Regions from separate parts of the Homo sapiens genome. Here region 2 is linked to region 1. The links are contacts of gene promoters, found by promoter capture Hi-C in human tissues and cell types (Jung and others, 2019). All regions are on one chromosome and are shown on one strand. The core of a region is centred on a gene start or on the middle of the fragment in contact, and the rest is flanking DNA. Distances in the headings are between cores, read along the strand shown. Region 1 holds the start of SLC37A3 (solute carrier family 37 member 3). Region 2 holds the start of LOC105375537 (a long non-coding RNA gene).

Region 1 (7,024 bases), core at 1-2,500:
GCCTCCCAGGTTCAAGCGATTCTCCTGCCTCAGCCTCCCGAGTAGCTGGGATTACAGGCATGCGCCACGACGCCCAGCTAATCTTTGTATTTTTAGTAGAGACGGGGTTTCACCATGTTGGCCAGGCTGGTCTTGAACTCCTGACCTCAAGGAATCCACAGGCCTCGGCCTCCCAAAGTGCTGGGATTACAGGCATGAGACACCGCGCCCAACCCGAAGCTCAATTTCCTCATGTATTAATTAAATGAGATAATTTATATGGAGTTCTTAGTATAGAGCCTAGTATCCAAGAAACATCAAACAAACTGAAAAGAAATCATTTAAGCACCAAAGCACTGAAGACATTCCCTTCAACAACTGTTATATATATTTATGTATGTATAAATTTGTGTAAAGGTAGAAATAAACCGGTGGACAAAAAGATAACAACTGAATGATTTTGCTCACCCCAGGAACCACTCCTCCCTATAAACTATAAACTTTTCAGTAAGAGTTACCACGAGATAGCCTACCATCTTACATTTCAAAAAAACACTAAAAACTCCGGGGACACATTCCCATTATCTCCTGTCAAAACTGAGAATAAACAGAACACACCCTGCGAAGAATAAGGAGGGAATGACGAATAATTTGACCAAATTCCTTGACTGAGTTCATGCTAGTTACCAGAAAACAAAACCAGTCACTCACTGAGACCACGCTTCTTCTCTGACCTCTATACATCCTTTCCAAAGAGCTTCCTTCCCCACCTACCTGAAAAGCATCCCCTCTCCCCTGGTCCGAACGACAAGCCCTTTTCTGATCAAGTCAGAATCTCCCAGACCCACGGCCGGAGGACAGGCGGGCGAGGAGCACAAAAGCCTCTGCCGCATGGATCGGGGCCGGGCCGCAGGGTCCCCCGGGGGTCCTTCTCCTCCCCATCCACCCCATCGCAGCCTCCCCGTGACGGCCGGGACCCCAGGCCCGGGCCCAGGGAGGAGAAGGAGGGGGCGAGCGGCCGACCCTGCCTGGGCGCCCCACCCAAGGGGGGCCGCCACCTACATCTCCCCACCGCCCTCCCGACCCGGGAAGCCCCTCGGATTGGACCCGCCCCCGCCCCAGCAGGTCTTCGGCCCCACGCATCACCGCTTGCGCACCCGAGATCCGCAGTGGTCGCCGCTCTCCAGCCCCGGCTCCGCTCGCCGGGTCAGCTTGGCTCCGCTGCCCGCCTCCCCCGCCGCCAGCTCACCCCTGGCGGTGCGACCAGGGTTTCCGGACGCCCACGTGACCCTCCCGTCGCGGGGCACGCTGGGAGTTGTAGTCCCGCCACGCGGCCTCACCTGCCGGCGCGGAGGAGGGCGAGGAGGGCGGAGGCTGGGAGCCCACAGAACTCTGCTGCTGCGGACCTGGCCAGTAATGTTAGCTGCAAAAGACGAGAGGTAGAGAGAAGAAATGATATGGGGAGAACTGGTGCATCCTTTTTTTTTTTTTTTTTTTTTTTTTTTCAAAAAAGCGGTATTCGGTCTTTGTTTTTATAAAAAGTAACGTGCTGCTAAGTGTGCTACTGACCGGCCTAAATTTTAGGTGTCTAATTAAATGCAGGCCGGGCACAGTGGGCTCACGCCTGTAATCCAACACTTTAGGAGGTCGAGAAGGGAGGATCACTTGAACCCAGTAGTTCAAGACCAGCCTTAGCAACATAGCCAGACCCCATCTCTACAAAAAATGTTAAAATTAGCCAGGAGTAGTGGCATGTGCCTGTGGTCCCTGCTACTGGGGCGACCGAGGTGCGAGGATCGCTTGAGCCCAAAAGTTTGAGGCTGGCAGCTGTGATTGCTCCACTGCACCAGCCTGGGCAACAGAACGAGACCCTGCCTCCAAAAAAAAAAAATCCAACACAAGTGTCTCACACCTGTAATCCTAACACTTTGGGAGGCCGAAGTAGGAGCATCATTTGAGAACAAGAGTTTGAGACCAGCCTGGGCAAGGTAGTGAGAGCCGCCCCCCATCCACCACCACCACCGCCGCCACCGTTTCTTAAATAAAGGGAAAAAATACAGACACTTGTTCGAATTTTAAAGAAAAAAAACTTCTCTTAATCCAGAAAATCTCCACAACAACCATTACATACCTGTTCTCAAGATAAACAATCACTAGTCTTCAAATAACAGAACTTGACAACACCTTTTGTCAAACATAGTTCCTCCTTACTTAATAGTAGTAATTGGGGAGACCACTCATGTTGGCTTTATCCAGAAGCAAAACAAACTTCGCATAACTTTTTGTTGTTGTTGTTCGTTTTTTAAACTTCGCATATCTTTTTGTTTGTTTGTTTTTTGTTTTTGAGACGGAGTCTTGCTCTGTTACCCAGGCTGGAGTGCAGTGGCGTGATCTCAGCTCACTGCAAGCTCCGCCTCCCGGGTTCAAGGGATTCTCCTGCCTCAGCCTCCCGAATAGCTGGGACTACAGGCGCCCGCCACCACGCCTGGCTAATTTTTTTGTATTTTTAGTAGAGACGGGGTTTCACCGTGTTAGCCAGGATGGTCTCGATCTCCTGACCTCGTGATCTGCCCTCCTTGGCCTCCCAAAGTTCTAGCATTACAGGTGTGAGCCACCGCAGCCGGCCAAAGTTCGCATATCTTTATAGCAGGAGGTAGTTTTACAAATTGGAGCAAGGCGCCCATACCCACTAATTTAGTCTCTTACCCTCATGTAGGAACTGGAAGATACAGGCACTAACTCACGTCTGAATTTCAAAAAGATGACCCCCAAGTCCTTGAGGATACATTTCTGAGTTGTGATACTGGCAAGAGGCTCATTTCGCCGTTATAAAGATTTGTGTACATTCGAAAAGGACAGAGAAAGAAATTTTGAAGGAACAGAGAGAAGGCTGAGAAGTCTCTTTATTTTCAGCAGAGGAATTAAGCCTGTTATTTTTCATTTTTATTTGCCCTTATACAGTGGTAGTTTTGTTTCTAGCCCTTATACAGTGGTAGTTTTGTCTCTAGGCATCCAAGGAGAAATATGATGTCAGGGTGAGCAAAAATAAATGAGCCAAATATGTTACTTTTATTTTTAAAAATATATTGTGAATCGTTTATTTTTCAGCCTAAAAAAGGTAGCAAATTCTGACACATACTACAACATAGACGAACCTTCAAAAACATTATGCTAAGTGAAATAAGTCAGACATAAAAGGACCAGTACAGTACAGTTCCACTTATATGAGGTAGCCAGAGTAGTGAAATTCATAGAGTCAGAAAGTAGCATGGTGGTTGCCCATGGCTGGAGGGAAGGGGAAATGAGAAATTGTTGTTTAATGGCTATGGAGTTTCCGTTTGGGATGCCAAAAAAGTCCTGGAGATGGATGGTGATGTTGGTTGCACAACAATGTATTTAATGCCATTGAATTGTACACTTAAAAACGGTTAAAATGGTAAATATATATACATAGAGTGAAATACATAGTTTTTTGTGTTATATTTACATATGGGTGTATACATATATATGTGTGTGTGTATACTTCAAGTATATAACCTGTGTCACCACCACTCAGGGCTAGAATGCCTTCTTAGCCATGTGGTGGTGTGTATCTTTAATCCCAGCTACTAGGGAGGTTGAGGTAGGAGGATCACTTCAGCCGCACCTTTGGAGGCTGCAGTGAGCTATGATCGTACCACTGTGCTCCAGCCTGGGTGACAGAGGGAGACCCAGTCTCTTAAAAAAGAAAAAACAGTGTATATATACACACACATTTATACATATGAATGCCTTCTTTCCTGTAGCCCAAGCTATGCTCTTTGTATTTATAGTGACCTTGGTGGAGAGGGTTGGGTGGTAGACAGAGGTAAGATCTCTCTCCCCTTGACTTCCAAAACCATCAGGATATTTAAATATTTGTAACATTTGTTTTCTACCTGTAGATGTTCTCCAAGTGCTCAGTGGGTCTGAGTCAGGTGACTTTTTTTTTAAACAGTAACCACCCCAGGTGCGGTGGCTCACCCCTATAATCCCAGCACTTTGGAAGGCCGAGGCAAGTGGATCACCTGAGGTCAGGAGTTCCAGACCAGCCTGGCCAACATAGTGAAACCCCATCTCTACTAAAAATACAAAAATTAGCTGGACGTGGTGGCGGGTGCCTGTAATCCCAACTACTCGGGAGGCTGAGGCAGGAGAATCGCTTGAACCCGGGAGGTGGAGGTTGCAGTGAGCCAAGATCGCACCATTGCACTCGAGCCTGAGTGACAAAAGCTAAACCTTATCTCAGGAAAAAAAAAAAAAAAGTAACCATTACCAGAAGAAAGACAACATTTGGACACTGAACTTCATGACACTGACACCTAACAGGTTTTATTTCCTGATCACACATTTGGGGCGAATCTTTACCTACACTGGATTTCCACATTGTGCTGGTGGTTCTCACCCTGCAGCAATATTTGGCAGAGTCTTTTGTTTTCTTGCTATACCTGCCAGTGTTGAGTTTATCTCACTCAGAAGAGAGTATCCTGAAAATGGATATGTAACTGGAATTTTGGGTAAGACAAATATTTTCAAATTTATCTGAAGACATCATAGAAGTAATGTTCTTGGACAGTGAATAAATTGCCCTGTATTTCAGTGCTTCTCAAACGTTGCGGACCCCAGCCTACAGTTAAAAAGACATTTCAGGCCAGGCACGGTGGCCCACGCCTGTTATCCCAGCACCTTGGGAGGCTGATGTGGGAGGATTGCTTGATCCCAGGAGTTCGAGACCAGTCTGGGTAACAAAGTGAGGCCCTGGCTCTACAAAAAAATGAAATAAATAGCTGGGCATGATGGTGCACACCTGTAGTCCCAGATATACAGGAGGCTAAGGCAGGAAGATTGCTTGAGCCCAGGAGGTTGAGGCCGCAGTGAGCCATGACGGTGCCACTGCACTTCAGCCTGGGAGACAAAGTGAGACCCTGTCTCAAAAAAAACATTTTTTTTTTACATCACCCTGTAAAATATGCATGTGTACAACTGACCCAAACATTTTGCAAAACAGTAGTCACTGTTACTACACAAGATACATTCTGAAGTTGTTTCTTAATCCCTTCTTGTGAAAATGCTGGTTGCAACCCACAAAGGTTGATTTCATGACTCATTTATAGGTCTCAGCCCACAGTTTGGAAACAGGACACCGATGTAAATATTTTATCCAACAGGGTGTCTCTGTTTCAATTTTGCTTATTGTGTCTATAATGCCATTTAACTGCCTACATATCACATCCTATGTAGTGGAGAAAATCTGGTCCCTGTGATAGACATTGGGAGGCAGTTACTGTTCTAGACTCTGGGGAAAAAATAGTAAGGAAAATTCACCTCAGCTTTATGCTTCTACTGCCAGCATCTGGGACTGATAAACTTGAGGTTTTCTGGACGTCAACCTTTGCTCTATGGTAGAATTTTTGAGGGAGTGAGGCAGACATTTTCTTTTCAGCTTTTTCTTCTCATATACCTTCAAAGTTCTTTTAGTTTTGTTTTTGCTTCCTTCTCTTTGCATCATCTCCTTTCTCTGACTCCTCACAAAGAGATATTCAGATCTACAAAACAAAGACTTAAATTACTTACAATCTGGCCAGGTACGGTGGTTTCATGCCTTGTAATCCCAGCACTTCGGGAAGCCAAGGCAGGAGGATCACTTGAGCCCAGGAGTTTCTTCTCTTTTTTTCTTTTTTTTTTTGAGACGGAGTCTCACTCTGTCACCCAGGCTGGAGTGCAGTGGCGCGACCTTGGCTCACTGCAACCTCCACCTCGCAGGCTCAAGCGATTCTCCTGCCAGAGTAGCTGGGATTATAGGCTCACCACCAGACCCGGGTAATTTTTGTATTTTTAGTAGAGATGGGGTTTTGCCATGTTGGCCAGGCTGGTCTCGAACTCCTGACCTCAGGTGATCTGCCCACCTCAGCCTCCCAAAGTGCTGGGATCACAGGCATGAGCCACCATGCCTGGCCAAACCCAGGAGTGTCAAACCACCATGGGCAACATAGGGAGATCCCAGCTCTAAAAACAATAAATAGTGGGGCATGGTGGTGTATGACTGTAGTCCCAGCTACTTGGGAGGCTGAAGTGGGAGGCTTCCTTGAGCCTGGGATGTTGTGGCTGCAGTGAGCCATAATTATGCCTCTGCACTCCAGCCTGAGCCATAGAGCAAGACCCTGTCTCTAAAAAATATGTATATATAATAAAATAAATTACTTAAGATCTATATCCTCCTTTAGTTGGTGTTATCTCAACTAACAACCCTCAGGCCAGCTGTAGTCCCAGATATTCAGGAGGCTGAGGCAGGTGGATTGCTTGAGCCCGGGAGGTTGAGGCTGCAGTGAGCCATGAATGGTGCCACTGCACTTCAGCCTGGGTGACAGAGTGAGACCTTGTCTCCAAAAAAAAAAAAAAAATTTTTTTTTTACATCACCCAGTACAATATGCACATGTACAACTGACCCAAACATTTTGCAAAACAGTCGCTGTTACTACATGAGATACATTCTGAAATTGTTTCCTAACAAGGGACACCAGGACAAATTGAGAGCAAAGGACGCAAAAGCCCACAAGACAAGGTAAAGTAGAAGAAAGGAGCAGGGGCAGTGTCGTATGGGCCAGCACTGGTTTAATTCACTGGCTGTTCCTTCCTGTGAGGGCTTTCCGCTAGGCCGGCGAAGGCTGGTGAGAAAGCCGGCTCTGCGCCCTGCCCTGTGCTGGCCGCCCTCACCTGGCGCTTTGTACCCTGAGGCAGCTCCGGACTCAGGGCAGGTGGGAGGGATTGCACTTTCCTTTCACTTTCTCAGGACGCCAAACCCGACACCTGGGGCCAGAACTACACTTCCCACCAAGCAGCGAGGCAGGAGGAAGAAGGGGGCACTGGGGGGCTGAAAAGCAAACCCAGAAGAAAGCGAAAACATTACCTGCTGACCAGCAGAGGTGAGAGAGCGAGACAGGTAAGCGACAGGTGAACCAGGAAGGCGAAGGCTGCGGGATGCCGGCGGGAGGACATCATCGGGGTGGACGCTGCCTGTGCCTCCCA
Region 2 (6,376 bases), core at 2,421-4,920, 660 kb after region 1:
GCAATGGTGCCATAGTCTACTCAGTCTACTATAAGAACATACCATAGACCAGGTGGCGTAAATGACAGAAATTATTTTTCACAGTTCTGGGAGTCCGAGATCAGGGTGCCAGCATGGTCAGTTTCTGGTGAGGGCTCAGATACTGGCTTGTAGACAGCTGCCTTCTCACTGTGTCTTCATGTGGCAGAGAGAGAACTCTGGTGTCTCTTCCTCTTCTTATAAGGGCACTAATCCCATCATGAGGGCCCCACCTTCATGACCTCATCTAAATCCAATTACCTTCAAAGACCCCATCTCCGAATACCATCACATTGGGCATTAGTGCTTCAATATAAGAATTTTTGGGGAACACAATTCAGTCTATAGGAGACAATGTAGCAAGTGATCAGGACTTTCAGGATCCGGCCTCAGAAGTCAGGTTGGAAGTAGAATGGGATGCTGTCCACATAACCTATGCCTCCTCAGCCCAGAATTCAACGATTGGAAAACATTGAGGCATTGCATAGGCCGAGGGGCATCGCTGTGCACTCATTCAGGTCAAAACCTGGCTGGGCAGCTGCCATTTCCTTTTCACTTTTCCAGATCTTGAGGAATTGTAGTCACTTACAGGTCTAATTTCTTACAAATCATGTTTTTCATGATTTTTAATGAATCATGTCTTGTTCTTTTTATTTATAAAAAAATACTGAGGCTTCTGGGATGGGGAATGCAGAGTCTAAGAAGTGGGTATCACACTATTTAAAATACTGTGATTAAAAAATATTTTAATATTTATGAAAGATTATCCCATAATAATATTTTCGCTGTTGTCATGAATATTTTTTCAGATTACCTTGAAAATTATTTTTTCAAGTTCCAAATCAAACAAATGGAGATTTCAATTGGCACCGTATTAAATCTATAAATGACTTTGAAAAGCATCGGCACTTTTATAGTATTGAGTTGTTTCATTTAGGAACATGGTAGGTTTTGTTTTGTTTTGTTTTGTTTTGAGACAAAGTCTTGCTCTGTCGCCCAGGCTGGAGTGCAGTGGTGTGATCTCGGCTCACTGCAGCCTCTGCCTCCTGGATTCAAGCGATTCTCTTGCCTCAGCTCCCGAGTAGCTGGGGTTACAGGTGGGCGCCACCACGCCCAGCTAATTTTTTTTGTATTTTTAGTAGAGATGTGGTTTCACTATGTTGGTCAGGCTGGTGTTGAACTCCTGACCTCAGGTGATCTGCCTGCCTCGGCCTCCCAAAGTGCTGGGATTACAGGTGTGAGCACCGCGCCTGGCCAGAACATGATAGGTTTTTACATTTTGTTTATATCATTTGTGTCTCTCAATGAAGTTTTGTAGTTTTCTTCATATCCTCTCCTTTCTTTGTAACTGTTATTCATAAGTGTGTTATAGTTTTTGTTATCTTGAATGGAAGAGTTTTCCAATATATTTTCTGATAATTAATTGCTATTATGTTGGAAAGTATTGATATCTGTTTATTTTTCTTATATTCAGCCATCTTATCCGACTCTCTTATTAGTGCTACTAGCTTGTTAGTTTATTCTTTTGAATTTTCAGTCATTTTCTGTGTATAGTGATAGTTTTGCATCCTCCTTTCCAATGGTTATAACACTTATTTTTGTTTCCTGCCCTTTTCTTGACCTCTAATATATTAAATAGTAGCCTGATGCAGTGGCTCACTCCTGTAATCCCAGCACTTTGGGAGGCTGAGGCGGACAGATCACTTGAGGTGAGGAGTTTGAGATCAGCCTGGGCAACATGGCAAAACCCCATCTCTACAAAAAAATACAAAAAAATTAGCTGGACATGGTGGTGCATGCCTGTAGTCCCAGGTACTAGGGAGGCTGAGGTGGGAGGATTGCTCTGGGCTCCTTGCTTGAGCCCAGGAGGTGGAGGCTGCAGTGAGCTGTTAAGTGTGCCACTGCACTCCTGCCTGGCTGACAGAGGGAGACCCTATCTCAAAAACCATCATATATATACGTATGTGAGACAGCATATTTATCTTGGTCCTGATTTTATTGGAATGTCTCTGAAGTTTCACTGTGTGCCAGTTCACCGTGTCCTGTTTGCCTTAACATCTGTTCCTTGCCCTTCCCCGCTCTGTTGTACTGCAGTGGACTGAAATCGGCGTGTCCCAAGGTTCCCATGTCAGCTGGCTTCCTGCTGAGTGCAGGCCCTGGGAGGTTCTGGCAAGAGATTGGTGAATAGAAGAAAGGGAGAAGCCCAGGTATTCCTCCCTTGTTCTCTGCCACAAGTAGCAACTCTAGCAACAGCTGCATCTGTTTCGTGGCTCCAGCTCTGGCCAGACAGGTGTCTCCATGGGTCCAGCTTCTGTTGGGCAAACCTGGTTCCAGGTTTCAGGAAATACTTCTTCCTTTTTTTGTTTCTTCAGCTAGGCTGCCCTTAGTCCCCAGCAAGAGGGTCCCTTCCCAACCCCACGTTAGAGGGCTCTGCATATTCCAAACACACACAAATAACTGAACTGAAGAATTCATGGTTGCCTCTGTGTCTTGAGTTCCTGCATCAGGTCTGCACAGCATGGGCTGTGACCCTAAACTTCTGCTCTTCTGGTTAACACAGAATGGGCCCCAGGAAAGTGCTCTGACATACCTCTTGGCCTGTATCCTCAAAACAAAAGACAACTGCATCTGAGTGCCATTAAGTGTTTTGGGTTGTGTTGCTGCTGATGTTGGGGGTGGATTCTGCTTTGATGTGCTGAGAGGATCTGAAGGTAGAAGCACTTAGACACAAAAGAGGACAAAATGATTAACTTGTCAATCTTTTCTCCCAGACAGCATGTGTTCAGTAGATTTTTGAATAAGGAAGTATAATTTCCCAGAAGTCATAAGTATCCATCTTCTGTCTTCCTTTGGTGTTCCACTTCGTGGTTCTGGAGTTACACGGGAATTAGGATGATATTTTGCAACAGTTGTACACGGTACCTGAGGACTGTTTTGCGATATTAAGCAATTCATGTTGCTCTTAACTATATTTCTCGACCCATTCTGAATTTTGGCCTAAAATACAGAAACATGCTAATGTCACATATCGTACATAGTTTAATGTGTTACTAAGAGATGTGGCCTCAGCTTGAGCCAATAGTTGTAAAATTCTTTGGAGAAATTAAAAGATTATAGGTATTTGTGCTATATCTTGAATTTATCCACAGACAAAGCACATTTAAATTTGATCTTATAGCCACTTGAAGACATATGATGGAAATTCTGACTAGAAAATGCTGCCAAAGTCATTAAATTTTATTTAGAAAATACATAAAATACATAAGGTATACTAGATATAAGATGTACCAGCTACCTGAAACAACAGATGATGCTCACATATAGAGCAAAATGTGGTCTTTGGTGGAAAAGGAAATCAATTTTGGATTTGTGCTATCCACAATTCTTTGATATGAACTATTGCTTGTTATTAATAATGTAAACAAAATAGGTAGGAGGTCCTGAAAGGGAGTCCTCCTTAAAAGGTTTCTGGCTTAGTTTCCTTTCTTTTGAGGATTTTTAACATATAAGCCAAACGAAATCCAAGGATTAAACTGAAAAAAAAAGTAAAAAAAAAAAAATGTACAGAAACAGAAATCTGTAAAAATTAGATCTGTAAAATCTTAGATCTGTAAAAATTCAGATCTAAGTTTGGCAATTTCTCACTTAATTTTTAAAATATATGTTTAAATTTTAAAGAAAATGTTTTTCTCCAAATAGAAATGAACTGCATGTGAAATCAAAATGATATTATAATAAAATATTAGGACATTAGAACAAGAAAATGAAAATGTCTTTATGACTTTAAATTAGTCAGGTGTGGTGGTGCATGCCTTTGTCTCAGCTACTTGGGAGGCTGAGGCATGAGAATGGCTTTCCCTTGAACAAGGCACATGTACCCTAAAACTTAAAGTATAATAATAATAAAATAAAAAAAAAGAAATATCCAGATTAGGCAAATCTAAAAAAAAAAAAAAAAGAAAGACTTTAAAGGAGAAGATTCATTATCCCAAAGTAATGTCTATAAAAACTATTTTCCAATCATTATAGATCAAGATATGGTCTTGATTAAAGACTGATTTTAATAAATTAAGCAGTATGTTTTGATTTTTGGTCTCCTTTATCCTAGCATTGGAATATTTGAAAGACGAACTTAAGAAATGTTATATGGATCTAGATATTACTTTAAGAGATGGTAAAAAAAAGGTATATATGATCGATCATGATTTATATGATAAAAGTAAAATATAATATTGTTCTGCACTATAAGCTTTTCATAGATGATTGTTACAGTGCTTGAAAATAACGTAAAATTTCAAAATAAGTATGCTTTAAAAATTTTACCAATACTTCCAATAAAAGTGTTACTGCCTCAGTAGAGTGAAATTTGTCCAAGTTGAAATTAATAATGCTAAAAAAACCTATCTGGCTGGGCATGGTAGCTCATGCCTGCAATCCCAGCACTTTGGGAGGCCAAGGTGAACAGATTGCTTAAGCCCAGAGTTTGAGACCAGCCTGGGAGCCATGGTGAAACCCCATCTCTACTAAAAATATAAAAATTAGCCAAATGCGGTGGCGTGCACCTGTAGTCTCAGCTTCTCAGGAGGCAGAGGTGGGAGGATCTCTTAAGCCTGGGAGGTCGAGGCTGCAGTGAGTTGTGATGGCACCACTGCAATCCAGCCTCTGCTACAGAGAGAGACCCTGTCTTGAAACAAAACAAAAAATGATCGAAAAATTACAATGAATCAAAAAGTTGTTAAGAACATTTGGCATTACCATCAACAGAAGTTATGTGAAAATCTTGATTATAGCAATAGGATTAATGATTTTTCTGGAGTAAACATCAAGAAAAATAAGAAAAAATATGTATAATTAGTTATGAATTATGAAATGCTTTTATTTTACTATGTATTTGAACATTGCTGGTTCACCAGCACATGCTATTTTGCCAACTTTTATTTATGCAAGAAACATAACTTGCTGGGCATGGTGGCTCATGCTTGTAATCCTAGTACATTGGGAGGCCAAGGCAGGAGGATTACTTGAGCCCAGGAGCTTGAGACCAGCCTGGGTAACATGGTGAAACCTCATCTTTACCAAAAAAATATGAAAATTAACCAGGTGTGGTGACACACGTCTGTAGTCCCATCTACTCAGGAGGCTGAGATGGGAGGATCAATTGAATCCAGGAGTTTGAGGTTGCAGTGGAGTACACCGCTGCACTCCAGTCTGGGTAACAGAATGAGACCCTGTCTCTATTAAAAAGAAAAAAAACTAAAATAACTTTACATGTATTTATTTCAAAATTTTGTCATCATAAAGGTATTTGTAATATAGAAGGATAGAACACACTTTGATTTAACAATTTGTCATTTGACTTATTTTAAACATTGAGACTTATGGTATGTGGACCTTCATTTGTATGCTTGCCCTGGGGTCTCTCAATGTTGCTTTTAACCCAGGGTGCTAGTGGCTTCCTGCTATCAACTTACTGTTGCCTACTTGGCTTTTTACCCTTTGATTTTGCACAAATAAGTAGATACATGTATATTTTCTTATGCTCCCTTTTTTTTCTGTATGAAAAGTAGAGTTATGGGTTGAAGTCCTAACCCTCAGTTCCTCAGAATGTGATCTTCTTTAGAAATAGTGTCATCATGGCAGGGTGCAGTGGCTCACGCTTATAATCCCAGCACTTTGGGAGGCCGAGGTGGGTGGATCACGAGGTGAAGAGATCGAGATCATCCTGGCCAACATGGTAAAACCCTGTCTGTGCTAAAAATACAAAAATTAGCTGGGTGTGGTGGTGTGCGCCTGTAGTCCCAGCTACTCGGGAGGCTGAGGCAGGAGAATCACTTGAACCTGGGAGGTAGAGCTTGCAGTGAGCCAAGATTGAGCCATAGCACTCCAGCCTGGCGGCAGAGCAAGACTCTGTCTCAAAAAAAAAAAAAAAAATCGCATAATCGTAGATGTAATTAATTAAGATAATTAAGATAGGTCAAACTGGAGTAGGGTAGGTCTCTATAGCAATATGACTGTTGTCCCCATAAGAAGAGGGAAATTTGGAGATGGAGATGCACAGAGGAGTGATGTGAAGATACACAAGAGGAGATAGTTATGTGATGACATGGGCAGACAAGTACAGAAGGATATCTGCTGGGTCATAGAGACATGTCTTTTTCATCTTAACAGTGACTCCTAATTGCCATCTAGAGTGGCTCTATCAGCTCATGCTCCCACCAGAAGTGCATGAGAGCATGTTTCTCTATGCCCCAGCCAACACTTGATATTAACAGACATGTAGATTTTTTCCCCATCTGGTGGGTAAACAACAGTATTTTAAAAACATTTGCATTCTGTAGATTACTAGTGAGGTTTTTTT

The links. The method cuts DNA at HindIII sites, captures the fragments that hold promoters and counts their contacts. A contact is called where the count stands out against the background at its distance.
Region 2: a fragment that was not itself captured here is called in contact with the fragment with the promoter of SLC37A3 in region 1 in 1 of the 25 tissues and cell types used here (H1 embryonic stem cells).

The regions. Positions count from the first base shown.
Region 1 is chr7:140,397,280-140,404,303 of GRCh38, forward strand. It overlaps SLC37A3 (solute carrier family 37 member 3), which reads right to left and starts at 1,251. Exons shown (of 15, transcript NM_207113.3): 1 at 1,137-1,251. It overlaps RAB19 (RAB19, member RAS oncogene family), which reads left to right and starts at 6,779. Exons shown (of 4, transcript NM_001008749.3): 1 at 6,779-6,938. It overlaps LOC124901759 (a long non-coding RNA gene), which reads right to left. Exons shown (of 2, transcript XR_007060561.1): 1 at 6,906-7,024; 2 at 4,304-5,543. RefSeq lists silencers at 789-1,058, 1,169-1,398 and enhancers at 6,352-6,853, 6,854-7,024. The HindIII fragment of the contact is 36,664 bases long and covers 1-7,024 here.
Region 2 is chr7:141,055,246-141,061,621 of GRCh38, forward strand. It overlaps LOC105375537 (a long non-coding RNA gene), which reads left to right and starts at 1,635. Exons shown (of 3, transcript XR_928053.4): 1 at 1,635-1,727; 2 at 2,113-2,225. RefSeq lists an enhancer at 2,312-2,813. The HindIII fragment of the contact is 6,069 bases long and covers 637-6,376 here.